Linked DNA regions of Homo sapiens: all the other regions are linked to region 3. The links are contacts of gene promoters, found by promoter capture Hi-C in human tissues and cell types (Jung and others, 2019). All regions are on one chromosome and are shown on one strand. The core of a region is centred on a gene start or on the middle of the fragment in contact, and the rest is flanking DNA. Distances in the headings are between cores, read along the strand shown. Region 1 overlaps DDX4 (DEAD-box helicase 4). Region 2 has its middle 20 kb from the start of PLK2. Region 3 holds the start of SETD9 (SET domain containing 9).

Evidence for each region. Contacts are between HindIII fragments. The study calls those that stand out against the background at their distance.
Region 1: a contact is called between a fragment that was not itself captured here and the fragment with the promoter of SETD9 in region 3, in 1 of the 25 tissues and cell types used here (spleen).
Region 2: a fragment that was not itself captured here is called in contact with the fragment with the promoter of SETD9 in region 3 in 1 of the 25 tissues and cell types used here (IMR-90 fibroblasts).

What each region holds. Positions count from the first base shown.
Region 1 is chr5:55,815,298-55,819,913 of GRCh38, forward strand. DDX4 (DEAD-box helicase 4) reads left to right here. Exons shown (of 22, transcript NM_024415.3): 21 at 16-126; 22 at 1,166-1,860. The coding sequence ends at 1,243. Among named protein-coding and RNA genes, the nearest start is that of IL31RA, 34 kb to the right of the region's middle. The HindIII fragment of the contact is 5,399 bases long and covers 1-4,616 here.
Region 2 is chr5:58,437,985-58,442,797 of GRCh38, forward strand. No RefSeq gene overlaps it. Among named protein-coding and RNA genes, the nearest start is that of PLK2, 20 kb to the right of the region's middle. The HindIII fragment of the contact is 4,029 bases long and covers 366-4,394 here.
Region 3 is chr5:56,906,514-56,910,845 of GRCh38, forward strand. It overlaps SETD9 (SET domain containing 9), which reads left to right and starts at 3,083. Exons shown (of 6, transcript NM_153706.4): 1 at 3,083-3,230. The coding sequence starts at 3,133. RefSeq lists enhancers at 2,719-2,808, 3,599-3,648, 3,744-4,332 and silencers at 2,959-3,168, 3,349-3,558. The HindIII fragment of the contact is 10,546 bases long and covers 1-4,332 here.

The DNA.
Region 1 (4,616 bases), core at 1,441-3,940, 1.1 Mb before region 3:
CAATTTTTTTTAAAGGCTCAACAGGATGTTCCTGCATGGTTGGAAGAAATTGCCTTTAGTACATACATTCCTGGCTTCAGTGGTAGTACAAGAGGAAACGTGTTTGCATCAGTTGATACCAGAAAGGTTAGTAGAAAGGAAAACTTGAGAACTTGTCTTCTAGTTACTCTTTGTAAATGTTGTGCTTAATATTGTGAAGTAACTATAATATTTAATAATCAAGCCATTGTTTTCGTGCCTGGAAGGTAGCTACTTTATTATTTCATTAACATTTTATGTATATACATATTTTTGGTTTTAAAGGTCAGGAATTAACTTTGAGATTTATGCCTAAACAGTCTCCTTTCCCAGATTTTAAATTTTAATTTGGAATCTTTTAAACTTCTGATGGAATTATTTAATTTTTGAATTCTGACAACATTAATTAATATAAAATACAGGACCTGTTGGGGTTACAAGTCTTTTCTTTTTCTTTTCTTTTTTTTTTTTTTTGAGATAGTGTCTGGCTCTGTTGTCCAGGCTGGAGTGCAGTGGCATGATCTTGGCTCACTGCAACCTCCGCCTCCCAGGTTCAAACAATTCTCATGCCTCAGCCTCCAGTGTATCTGGGATTACAGGCATGTGCCACCATCTTAGCTGGTTTTTTTTTTTTTTTTTTTTGTATTTTTAATAGAGACAGGGTTTCACCATGTTGGCCAGGCTGGTCTCAAACTCCTGGCCTCAAGTGATCCACCTGCTTCAACCTCCCAAAGTGCTGAGATTACAGGCGTGAGCCACTGCGCCCAGCCACGAGGCTACAAGTCTTTTCTGGTATGTCAGGTTTTTATAGGCTGAACACCGCCTTTATTCAGAAACAATGAGCATGTTAATTAAATATTTATGCTGATTCATTGAGTGTAGTGCATTAAGTTTTCCCCACTTGTCAAAACTATTGACTTAAAAAATATTTTTCTTGAAACATTTTGTGCAATTTAGATTTCCTCATTTGACAGGAGCCTTTTTTCAGGTGAATCAGATTTAGTGAGAATAAAGTTCTTTGATTATTTGGGGAAGACATGGTAGATACTTTGAGTCCTTGCTCTCAGTCTGAGTGATGTAACTTTAAAGCTGTCATAAAATTAAATGTTTGTTTGTTTCTTTTTTTTTTTTTTTAAATAATTACCAGGGCAAGAGCACTTTGAACACAGCTGGGTTTTCTTCTTCACAAGCTCCCAATCCAGTAGATGATGAGTCATGGGATTAAAGCCAAAACATCCTTCAAGTCTGTGGTTTTGATGCAGAGAAGAAAATAGTTTTGATTTTTGAGTTTTTAACAGAAGTATAAAACTTAACATTCTCATAGCTCCTGTCCTTGTATTCTCACTCCTACACTTAAAAAAAAAATCCTTACTGACTAGTTATGTGAGATGCTAAAACTTACAACATTGCAGTTACTGATACAAATGGTGTTAACTGGGAATATTAAAGCATTCTAAATGTCTTTCTTATTTCTGGTATATTCTTTAGGGGGCTTAGACATGTTTAATGTTTAAATGCCAAGTCTTACTATAGTGTTTATTGATCTTATAAAACAAGCAAATAGGATATGATACACTTTTGGTTAAAAATTACTGGGTCTCATTTTTACTTGAGTCTTTAAAACAGTAGTGTGTCACTATAATGTGATAATCTTTAAGAGAAAGTAGAATACTTAAGCCTTTCAAAGTGATTTTGATTTTTAGATCATCAGATGTATGATGAAAATGGTTAAATGTTTGTGATGGGAGCTCTGTACTCAATGGCATAACAATGTTTATTTTTATAATATACAATCTTTCCTTGAAATAAAGGATGAAACACTTTTCCCTTAAGTTTTCCATCAGCACTTTAAATTTTTCTTTGTTGCATATCCTAGCCCAAACTCCTATATTTTTGAAACTGTTTTTTTGTGTCTTGCGTAACCAGTGCAGTGAACAAAGTCTTACATAAATTAAATATTAATGTATAAACATTACTGCACAGATGTGGCAATGAAAATCAATCTTAGAACTCAAACCCGTTTATCAACAAAAAACAATGCTGCTTACTCTTTCCATAAGTTTTTGATTCATATTTTAAGATTGATGAAAGAACCCTGTCTTTCTTCATTTTCCATTATATATCTTGAACTTACTATGCCTAGAATAATGAAGTTCTTTTTTTTTTTGAGACGGAGTCTTGCTCTTGTTGCTAAGGCTGGAGTGTAATGGCGTGATCTTGGCTCACTGCAACCTCTGCCTCCCGGGTTCAAGCAGTTCTCCTGCCTCAGCCTCTCCCGAGTAGCTGGGATTACAGACACGCGCCACAATGCCCAGCTAATTTTTAGTAGAGACGGGTTTCACTATGTTGGCCAGCCTGGTCTCGAACTCCTGACCTCGTGATCCGCCCGCCTCCACCTCTCAAAGTGCTGGGATTACACGCGTGAGCCACCGCACCCAGCCCGAAGTTATTAATTAATTGTTAAATGAACGAACCCAAATATTTAAGACCCAGTGAGGTGTAAATACTGGGGAGACAAAAATGATTGGTATTAAGTGTTACTGTTCACCTAAACAATCCAAAGTGACATGTCCCTGATGTATATCTTGTTATAGGAATTTAGTTAATAAATGAGGCATCACATATGAAAAAGGAAGGCATATCAACAGATAGTGTTAGAATAACTGGGTAGATGCCTACCTCATGCCATATTTAAAATTAACTTCATGTGAATTATAAAATATTAAAGCTAATAGTTAAATATTAACCCTTTGAAGGGTTGACTTTAAGCTAAGGAACAGAAATCAAAAAAGAAACAACAGATTTGATCACTCAAGGAAAGATTAGTTGCCTACATAAAAAATAGTGAAAAGTAGACAAGGAAAAATATTACTGTGACCACAGTGGTTATCAGTGTTCTTTATATGTGGATATACTAATAGAAGAATACAAAGAACATAGAAACTCAAAAAGGGCACCAGCATGGCACATGTATACATATGTAACAAACCTGCATGTTGTGCACATGTACTCTAGAACTTCGAGTATAATAATAAAAAGAAAAAATGTTGACAACAAGAAAAACTCAAAAAGGGAAGTTCAATTAATAAAAATATGGGACATATTTCACTTTTCTTCTGTTATCTCACTTCTGGGAAAGGCTAAATGAATGAAGGTGTTTGGATTGTTATTTGTAATATCTGTATGTCTTAATTTTCTAGTTTCGTTTAGGAAGAGTATAGGCCAGTCTTGTCTCATTTTTTTCATTGCTTTTTTTTTTTTTAACAGATTGCTCCCTCTGAACTGATTCCTTTTAAGCTTTTGCTTGATTTGTCAGATTACCATAGTAGCATTACTGAATCAAATATAAAAAAGGAAAGGAAATGTATCATACATCTACCACCATTACAGATGAACTGTAAATGTCCCTATGTTTAATTACTCTCCTCATTTCTAGGTATAGGTTTGAATCATCTCTTTAAAAATTATCAAAGTAACATGCATAAATTAGAAAAGAAAATGCCATAGAAGCATTTATAATAGAAAGCAATATTTTTCTGCCCCTCCCCTTCCAAATTGCCATTCCACATCCAACAATCAGCTATTATTAACAATTTCTGTTCACTGCCATCATATACAGGTTGAGTATCCCTTATCTGAAATGCTCGGGACCAGAAATGTTTCAGATATCAGATTTTTTTTTGGATTTTGGAATATTTGCATAATATATAATGAGAGATCTTGGAGATGGGACCCAAGCCTAAACATGAAATTCATTTGTTTCATTATACCTCATATACAACTTGAAGATAAGTTTTGATATTTTAAGTAATTTTGTGCATGAAACAAAGTTTGTGTACCTTGAGCTGTCTGAAAACTAAGGTGTCACTATCTTAGTCACATGTGGACAATCTGAGGCATCACATTGGTGCTCAAGGTTTCAGGTTTAGGAGCATTTGGGATTTTGAATTTTTGGATTAGGGATGCTCAACCTGTATTTTTATGTCACCAACCAGAACGTCTGTTGACTTTGATATATGAAGATTTAACTCACATCTCTGACTCGCCGTAGAAGTATACCTGTGAGATGATTTTAAAGGCACCTTTTCCTTTCCTCTATTTGTATGTCATAACATCTGTAAACTGCACATTTACATTTCCCAAGTTAACATTTGCATTTTCTATAACCATAAAGTCTCCCTTATATACACAGATTCCAGAATTGAAAATCAAAAGCATGTGTTTATATAAATATTGTTCACTGGATGGGCCAATTCACACAGTCTTGATTGCCTCACCTTTACTATCTTCCTAATTTTATGACTTTTGTGTCTGCAGGGAGAATGGGAAGTGTCAGGGTCAAATGAAAACTGCCCAAAGCCATTCCACATACCAGCTTGCTTTGAATTTGGATCACACAATTTTTGAGCAATTTGTTTACCCTGTTTGTAGTGTTTTTTTGTTTTGAAGGAGACAGATCATGCATTTTTCATATTACCTTCCCAGGTTTGATGTTAATTTTCTTAAAAGATCCCAAAAGATATTGGTTGTCTTCACTTTTATGATGAATGCGACTTGTGTGTGATACTCAGGGTGCTTTGAAAATTGTTTTTTTTTTT
Region 2 (4,813 bases), core at 1,130-3,629, 1.5 Mb after region 3:
CAAGGTTCAGAGTCTCCACAGGTATGGAAGTGAGGGTCTGGGATTTACTTTAGATCCACACTACCTGCCCATGTACTTCCCTTGAATGAGGCCTGGCCAAGGAAGAATGACCCTGCCCCTCTTGGCCCAGCCTTTCTTTGGCCCTAATGGAGACATGAACTTTGGATTCCTCATAGCTCTATAAAGATATCTTTACATTAGATCCCTTAATAGCAGAAGCTTCTGCCTACCTTGGCTTCACTTATGACAGCCATAAGCATTGTTAACTGTACCTCCTTTTGGTAGAACACTTGGCATTCTACAAAATATTTCAAACCTGGTATCCAATGCAATCCTCACAATACTCCTAATGTAGAGTTAGGGTGGTATTATCTTGATTTGCAGTTGAGGATACAGACCCAGGGAAGAACTTGGTTTAGGTCAAACAGCTCGTGAGTGGCAAAGCAGCTCTGGAGACTTCCAGAGACTTCCCTTGCCACAGTCCTATGCTTCCCTTCTAACTGTGGGCAAGCTTCTAAAAAATTAATATCTAAGCTGCTGGGAGGACTCATCTTTATGTTTTTTTTCCAGATGAATTAGTGGCAGTATGTCTTCTTCAAAAAATTATGGATGAAATGAACAAAGAGATAAACTCAGTTTATTCATATTCTTTGTCTCCAGGTTCTATTTACCTCTGACTCTGCAATGATGAATAAATTGTTCGCTTATCTGATGATCAATTTCTGTCTTTAAAATGGAGAGGATAATACTTGTCACCCACTACCATCACTAGAATGAAGGAACTAATGCTTCTAAAGTGTTGTGAAAGAGATGCTCTAGAAATAGAAATATGAGGCTTTTATTGAACACATTTAAATGTGCTTTTTAACTGAAATTATGGTTTTATCAAAGATTCTTGCTACACTGAACTCATCACAATTTGTATTATTATTATTACTATTTTTCCTGTTTTACTTTGAATGCCAATGCAGCAAATAGACTTTCCAATTTTATAGATCTTACCGTTTTACAGACAACTGCTGAGGGCTACAATCCCCTTATCTTATACTGTCCACCGAAGCTTTGTTTTACCTGATTTGTTCTAGCTATAGACATAAACATTGATCATTTGCTCCGCACAGGTAACAACATATTCTATAGAAACTGGCCAAGAAAATTGCATAAAATGATGAAACAGGCTTTGCTTGGACACTAAAAGCGCCACTTCGCTAAATAATCCAGCAATGGCACAACAGGCTTACTGGACAGTCTGACTGTCTTCATTAGTCAGACTGGCTGGCAGGCTTTCTGCGCAGGGGAACTAGAGAGTTTGTAAGCTCTCCAAACAGTCCCTGAGGTACAGCAGCCAGACAGCTGAGGTCTTCCTAATGAATACTTCAACAAGCCAGAGTTCGCAGGGATAAAACCATTAAGCCACAGAGACAGCTATGGCTTTTAAATTTGATGTGGTATGCTAACTCTTGAGAGGACATTTTAAGATAAGAAATGCAAACTTCCACATTGGGTTGGATTGTCCAAAGCACCTGAACAAATAAAATGTTTTCCATAAAGATGTTATTGGCTATCAAAGTTGACTTTGAAATGATACAAAAGCATTTTTCTCAAAGAATCTGAAATTCACAAATAAGAATTTTTGTGAATATTATACTTTATCAACTATATCGGGGAGGAAATTTTTTTCTAAATTTAATTAGTATCATTTAGCTTTTCCTTCTTTTGTTTTAAGGAAGACAATAAACTAATACACTGCTAAAAGTCTTCTAAGAAATAATTATATTTACTCTGCAAAGTAATTTTTAACTTTACTCTGCAAAGCACCTGTCAAAGTTCTTCACTTAGTTGTAATAAGCAGTGTCTAACACACACACACACACACACACACACACACAAAACCAGTTCATTCCTCAAACAATTTTGTTAACTTTCTTAAATACAGGAAGTTCTAGCTTAAATGATTCTTCCTCATGGCACCAGTCATATTTTGCATGCTTTGGTTAGAGATGTGTTTTTTGTGTTGTTTTGTTTTATTTTATAAAGTGAGCAACATTCTTCCATTAACCTGTCAAGAAACTGTTCTTTTGTTCATCTCATGCCCACAAAAACAAGCACACGATGTTTGGAAAACAATCTACAATAATTTCAATGGGATCAGTATGTTAGAATATAACCAAATGTTGAGATTCTCTCTAATTTATTGACCTGAAATTCCTTCAGGGTCACAAGAAACTTGCCCTACAGACATTTGGTGTGTTTTAGTATCAGACTGGTACTACAGCAATAGTGCTAGGTCAAATATCAGGATGTGTAATACTTTTTCTGAAAAGCTCATTGTGCTTCACTGAAAAAGTCACTCAAACACATAGAGAAATTAAGACACTGCCTGTGTAACTGAAATAAATGATTTTTTTTAAAAAAATCAGTTACTTTAGGCATTTCAATGCTGAACTCACTAATGGAGCAGAAGAATGAGAGCTTGAGTCTGCTTTACAGGAATCTGGGGTACTGTGATACAACCTATAGTATCTGCTATTTTTTAAAATAACAATTTTTTTTTAATTTTCAATAAATATATTGACATATCCTAAAGATACTTAAGACTATATTTTTGATTATTAATTCTTGGAAATCTTTAAATACATACAATGAAAGTCTCATTTTAAGTTATTAAAGCTCCCAGTCTTCATTTCTGTTTTTGTTTTTCTCACAAATAAAATTAAAATGTGGCTTCAAGAAATCATAATATGCCATTCTTATGTCATGAGTGCTAAGAGAAAAGCCACTTAGAATCAGGGAAGACCAAATGAATATTTTAAATTGTGATGTAGTACACTAGTGTATTATTTACATCACTAAAGCAAACCACTTGTTATATGCCTGGCATAAAGCACATTCTTACTTTTACTTCTCAAGGAACCCCATAAAATATATCAATTCAATTGCAATTCTAAATGTATTAGCAAATTGGTAATGTTACTAAGTTCAAGGAGAAATTCTTTTGAAGTATCTAGGAATCCAGAAGAACATTATTTTACAACTTCCTTTCCTAGATAAATAATTATGACGTCTTTGTGTGTTTAGTTAGCATTGGCATTTCAGCTAATATTGACCAAAGAAGCTAGTGTGGCTATATTTAAACTCTGTCAGAGTTTCACCACCACATCACAGCACATTTTAAGTATTTTATAATGAATGAGACCTATTATTGCCAGAGCACACTTCAAATTCATTCATTTTTCCTCTCAAATTGTTTTTCCAGTTATGTCTGCCAAAATTGTAGCAAATCACTTTTATTTGAAACAAAGATTTCATATTTCTATTTCAGTCCTTCCTCTCTGAAGCCAGGATGAAATAACGTTGCGATGTAATACAACAAACCATATACTTCCAAGTTGAAATGACAGGTAATTGATTATGAGTCAGTCTGCAAAAGATTGGTGATTAGAGAAACCATATCCTGCTTAAATACATTTCTTTCATTCTCATAAACCAGATGGTACCTTGTGTCACTGACTGTCATTAACAATTTTTACCACCACAGTCATAGTGGTCAACAAAGCAGATAAAGTAAAAAAATAATATAATGTGTAGTAGGATCTGAATAAATGTACATAGCCCGAATTCATTTTTCTGCTGTTGTGCTTAATAAAGCCTAAAAATAAGGTCATAAATGCTTATAGCATGAAAAAAATTTAACCTACCTTTATAGGAAAAGCAATTGAAATCAAAGGTGTGGTAACATAAGTGGGTCATGCTAAATGCATCTTAGCTACATTAAACTCACATGGGATAGCAATGAGTATTTCATGGGATAACCATATAATTCATCTTAGAAATGCATACTTTTTTTGAGATGGGATCTCTCTCTGTCCTCCAAACTGCAGTAAAATGGTGTGATCTTGGCTCACTGCAGCCTTCACCTCCTGGACTCAAGCAATCCTCTCACCTCAGGCTCCTGACACACCAGTTGCACACTCAGGTAATTTTTTTTTTTTTTTTTTTTTTTTTTTGGAGAGACAGCATCTCGCTATGTTGCCCAGGCTGGTTTTGAACTTCTAGGCTCAAGCAAACCTTCCACCTCAGCCTCCCAAAGTGCTGATATTATGCAGTAAACCACCAATCCCAGCCAAATACAAAGATTTTTAACTGACACAAGGCATGATTAAGAGTTTCCCAGGTAAACTGTGTAGTCACCATCCGTATATATGCACTGTGCCTTTGGCAGTACACAGCTGTTCAGTACTGTGAGAAAAAAAAAAAACGGACTGTTTTATCAATAGCAAGCTTAACATGTTCCAAACCATGTAGTGGATATTGAAGGATGCATCTCAGTTGAATTGAATAAAGCATAACTGTAAAGTTATGCTTTATAATTTTGTATAATAAACTGTTTAAAAATTATTCAATTAAGATTTCTTGATTTTCCTACCAAATTTTGTTTCTATGTCACTTTTGGACATAGAGGAGGAATAACTCCTTTCTTCATGCCATTAAAGTAAATCAATTGAAGCTTACTCTTCTACAACTATATTAAATTTTAACTTAAAAAATCTTGCTTTAATCACTTCTTGGCCTTTTGGCAAAGAACAAGTGTAAAAGTCTTGCTCTAATGTACTCAGTGTGATATATCCTCATGCTTTGTTTGTTAGGTTCTTCCCCAAAAGTGGTTTATGAAGAAGTCTTTATAGCTTCTACATCTGTCCTGTTCAGTGTAAAGGACTACCAACATGCTCTCTTTTAAACACAAAATGCCTTTTGCAAACCAAAGTGGACATGGACAAAAATTTATTTTAAAACATTTCAGTTCTGCCATTAT
Region 3 (4,332 bases), core at 1,833-4,332:
ACACAGTGAGACCCCATCACTAAAAATAAAAAAAGAGAGAAAAAAGATAAGAACAGAGGTCAACAAAATAAAAAATAAGCAGGGAAAAGTAATAAAGCCAAAAGCTGTTTCTTTGAAAAGATTGACAAACCCTCAATTACAATGATGAAGAAGAGAACACAAATCACCAAAATCAGGAACAAAAATGGGCTATTACAACAGATCATACAGACATTAAAAGGTTAGTAAGACAGTATTTATAAACAACTTTATACCAAGATATTTGGCAACTTAGACAAAATGAACAAATTCCATAAAAATATAACTTACCAAACAACACAAGATGAAACGGACATTATGAATAGCCCTATATCTTTAAAATAAGTTGAATTTATTATCAAAGAAAATTACAAGCCCAGATGTTTTCACAGGCAAATTCTATCTAAAAAATTTTAAAACATACTTCAAAATAAATGTGGGATGACAATAGCATATATTAAAACCTACAGGATCTGACCAAAGAGGTACTCATAACTGAGTAGTTATGTCAGAAATCCAAGGACGGTCAACATTTGACAATGTGTCATCATTCACTACATGAATAAATGAATAGAAACTATATGGTCATCTCAATAAGCAGAGAAAAGCATTTGATATTTATCATTCATTTAAAATTTAAAACAATAAAAATTTTTGGAAAGTCAAAAATAGAACTTTAAAAAACTTCATAAAGTATACATACCTACTAGAAAACTACAGTAAATATTAAACTTGAAGGCAAAACCTCAAAAATAGAAGAATGCAGTAGACTTAAACCAATATGGGTAGATCTTCAAGATGTATTTTTGAGGAAATCAAATAAGTTGTGGATCCTTATAATATTTTAACAATACTCACACAAAATACTATGTATTTTCTATAAAAACATACGCGGGTATGTAAATACATAAAAATAAAACTGGCAGAAAACACACCCGTCTGATAACTTCTGAGAAGCGCCAAGTACCAGGATTGGTGGAAGTACAAGGTACGGTGTTTGGTTAAGGGTGACTTGAGCTTTAGCTACCATGTTTCTATTTGTATAACTTTAGATGCTTCCATTAGAAAAGAAGAAAAGATTAAAATTAGTGACCTAATAACCTACTTTAAGAAACTAGAAAAAGAAGGTTTTCATTAATTACTTAGCTAACCAAAATTTAATTTTAATACCATAAATATAAAAAAACTGTAAAAATATACAAAAACTGATTTTTTTCTTTTTTTAGACAAGTACATTACCATAGGTAAAGATTAAACTAGTTCTTTTGGGTTCTTTGTTAAGTTTGGAGACTATAAAGAAACTTTCTTGTATGCCACTTATTAATACATCCTGGAACTGAATTGACTCCATTTAGCAAGTCAGGTAAATCTAGATTATGCCAAATTATCAAACAAACACAGAGTCTGAGAGAAAGCCTCTAGAGTTTGCTAACATTCTATATGATATGAACGAAATAGAGACATTGGTAGATACTCTTTCTCTTTATTTCTTTCAGAATAGAACAAATTAGTCCCGCAGCTACTGGCGATTGGCTGAATTTTTTTTTTTTTTGAGACGGGATCTCACTCTGTCACCCAGGCTGGAGTGCAGTGGCGGATCTCGGCTCCCTGCAACCTCCGTCTCTCAGGTTCAAGCGATTCTTCTGCCTCAGCCTCCTGAGTAGCTGGGACTACAGGCACGTGCCACCAACGCTCGGCTAATTTTTGTATTTGTTCTTTTTTAGTAAAGACGGGGTTTCGCCATGTTGGCCAGATTGGTCCCGAACTCCTGACCTCAGGGGATCCACCCGCCTCGGCCTCCCAAAGTGCTGGGATTACAGGCGTGAGCCACTGCGCCCGGCCTTGGCTGAGTTTTTATTAGATCTGAGCCGTTCAATTTCAATAGTTTAGGATCCAACCTCACTCTCAGGCAAAGAATAGAGGAAATGATACCAACGTATTTATCTGTCAATAAACACTTGGTGATTTGAATATGGTTAAGGGATTCCTGTAGTTTGCCCCCCTTAAAACTGAACTTTGTCCAAACCTGTTCTAAATATGTGTGTGCGTGTGCATGCATCTGGGTGTTGGGGAGGAGCGGTCGTAAAGTTCCTTTTAAATTTCACCTATGGGGGACTACTTCCCACCTCATCCTATGAAGTCAACATTAGCCTAAATACCAAAGCCAGATTAAGACACTACAAGAAAACTACGAAACAATATCTCTCACGAACACAGATGCAGAACTTCTAGACAAAACGTTTCCAAATTGAAGCGAAGACCATATTAAAAGGACAAAAGCACCTCAGTGGTTGCTTGGGGACTGGGGGAGGGGCTGGATTACTATCTTGGCTGTGGTGTCGAAAACCTATCAAATTGTTCACTTTAAATATGTGCAGTTTATTGTATCCCAACCATTCCTCAACAAAGCTGTTTTTCAGAAACATTTGTCCATGTAGTTTTGCCTTTGAATGGTTGGGTCAATGAAGAGAAAAACGAGTGAAAACAGGGAATCATGACACTTTGTTTTTTTACGTGTAAATATTCGCAAAACGCCCAAACTGGTAACTTTGGGAACACGGGTTCACGCAGAAGAAGGGCTGCTGTCTGGGGAGGACTGAAACTCGGGTTCCCGAAGTCGGGCTGCTCTGGGGCCACGGAGAGAAGGGGAGAGAACGTCGAGGAAGAGGCAGAGCTCAAGTGGACGGAGGATGGAACACAGAGCGCGGCCGGGACAAAGGGGCAGGCCAGACAGCCGTGACAGAGAAACTAGGCGGTCCGCTCCTGGGACGCGGTCTCGGGGGCGGGTTCGCCCCTGAGGCCCGGTGACCCTTCGCCCGCAACCAGGGCTAGCGCTTGTGTGCGCCCACGGAAGCACCCGAGCGACCGGAGAAAGAAAAAGTGGTCAAGGGGACCTCCTTCCAGCTCTACGCGCCTCTCATTCAGAGAGGTGAGGTCAGGAAAGGGGAAGGACGAAGCCCCAGAGCAACAGAAGTCAGGCGGTGCCAGGAACACTGAGAGCGGAGCCAGGGGAAGGCGGCCGAGCGCGGCCCCCTCTCCTCCCGGGCCGGGGCGGGCCCGAGGCCTCGATCCGCCTTCCCCGCGCCGTCCTGGTCACGGCCCCGCGGGGCAGCCATGCCTGGCCGTCTGCTGCGGGGCCTGTGGCAGCGATGGCGCCGTTACAAGTACCGCTTCGTTCCCTGGATCGCACTGAACCTAAGCCACAACCCGAGGTGAGAGGGCGGGACGGCAGAACGAGGGGCACCTGCCTTCGGTTCCCAGACGCCACCACGGCGGCGGGACGCAAAGCGGAGAGCCTGAGGCTGACTGCCGGCCTGAGATGGGCGGGCCCGGGTGGGCAGGGACTGAGGTGGGCGGGCCGGGTGGGCGGGGACTGAGGCCTCGGAGGGGTTTAAGGAACGCGGGCCAGAGGCGGGCGGGGCCGAGGTTGGTGGAGTCCGAGGCCCGCTGGAAGCCTGAAGTGGGCGGTGGCTTCAGGTGGGCGGGGCCTATGGCCTCTTTCCCAGTGTCCGCTGCGCTGCCGGGCCCGCGAGGCCGAGCTCGCCAGCCGGATGTGTCGCCTGTTCTTCCCTGTTGCGTTCGGCACTGACTGGGGAGCTTGTATCTGGGCAAAAATGGAAACTTTTTAAAAAGACTGCCCTTACCGCGTGAGAGTGCGTGGCTTTTTCTCCACCAGGGGTTAATTAGGTGCTTGAACTTCCTCAGAAAAGCCAAGCCAGGGTTTATTTTCATAGTTCATACAAGTACTTCACGTGGTTAAAGAAGCCCATCCCGGCTGTGAGAATAGCGTGCAGTAGCTCGCGCGTTAAGAACGGGCAGAACGCCACTCAAAAGCACGTCGGGATGGTGGGTTTCGGATTGGGGTGAGTCCCGCCGGCGTTATTAAGGGCGCACCAGTGATCAGCTCAACACCGTGCTCACCAAAGAGGCCGACCGGGCCTCCCTGAAGTCAGTGTCCGACAAATAGGGAAACAAAGCGGTTTCCGGAAGGTTGCATGCTAGGGAAACAGGAGATCAGTTGTATCATGACTCGGAACCGTGAGGCGGGAATTACAACCTTTTTGTTCAAGTAAAAATAATGCAGTTAGTACAAAAAGATAATGATTATGGAAATAAGAGGTGCAGTCATTGAAGACGTTAGTCGTCCTGGAGGGAGTGTCACAAAGTATACGATGTTGAATTTGTCTTTGAAACTACAAGGCCATTTTTAAAAAGCCATTGAATGTGAGGTCATTCATTCTCATTGTGATGACATTCAGCTTGGCTGTTGGGTGTAGTACGGGAAAGAGCTGAACTTCGTTTCTGCCTCTGGCT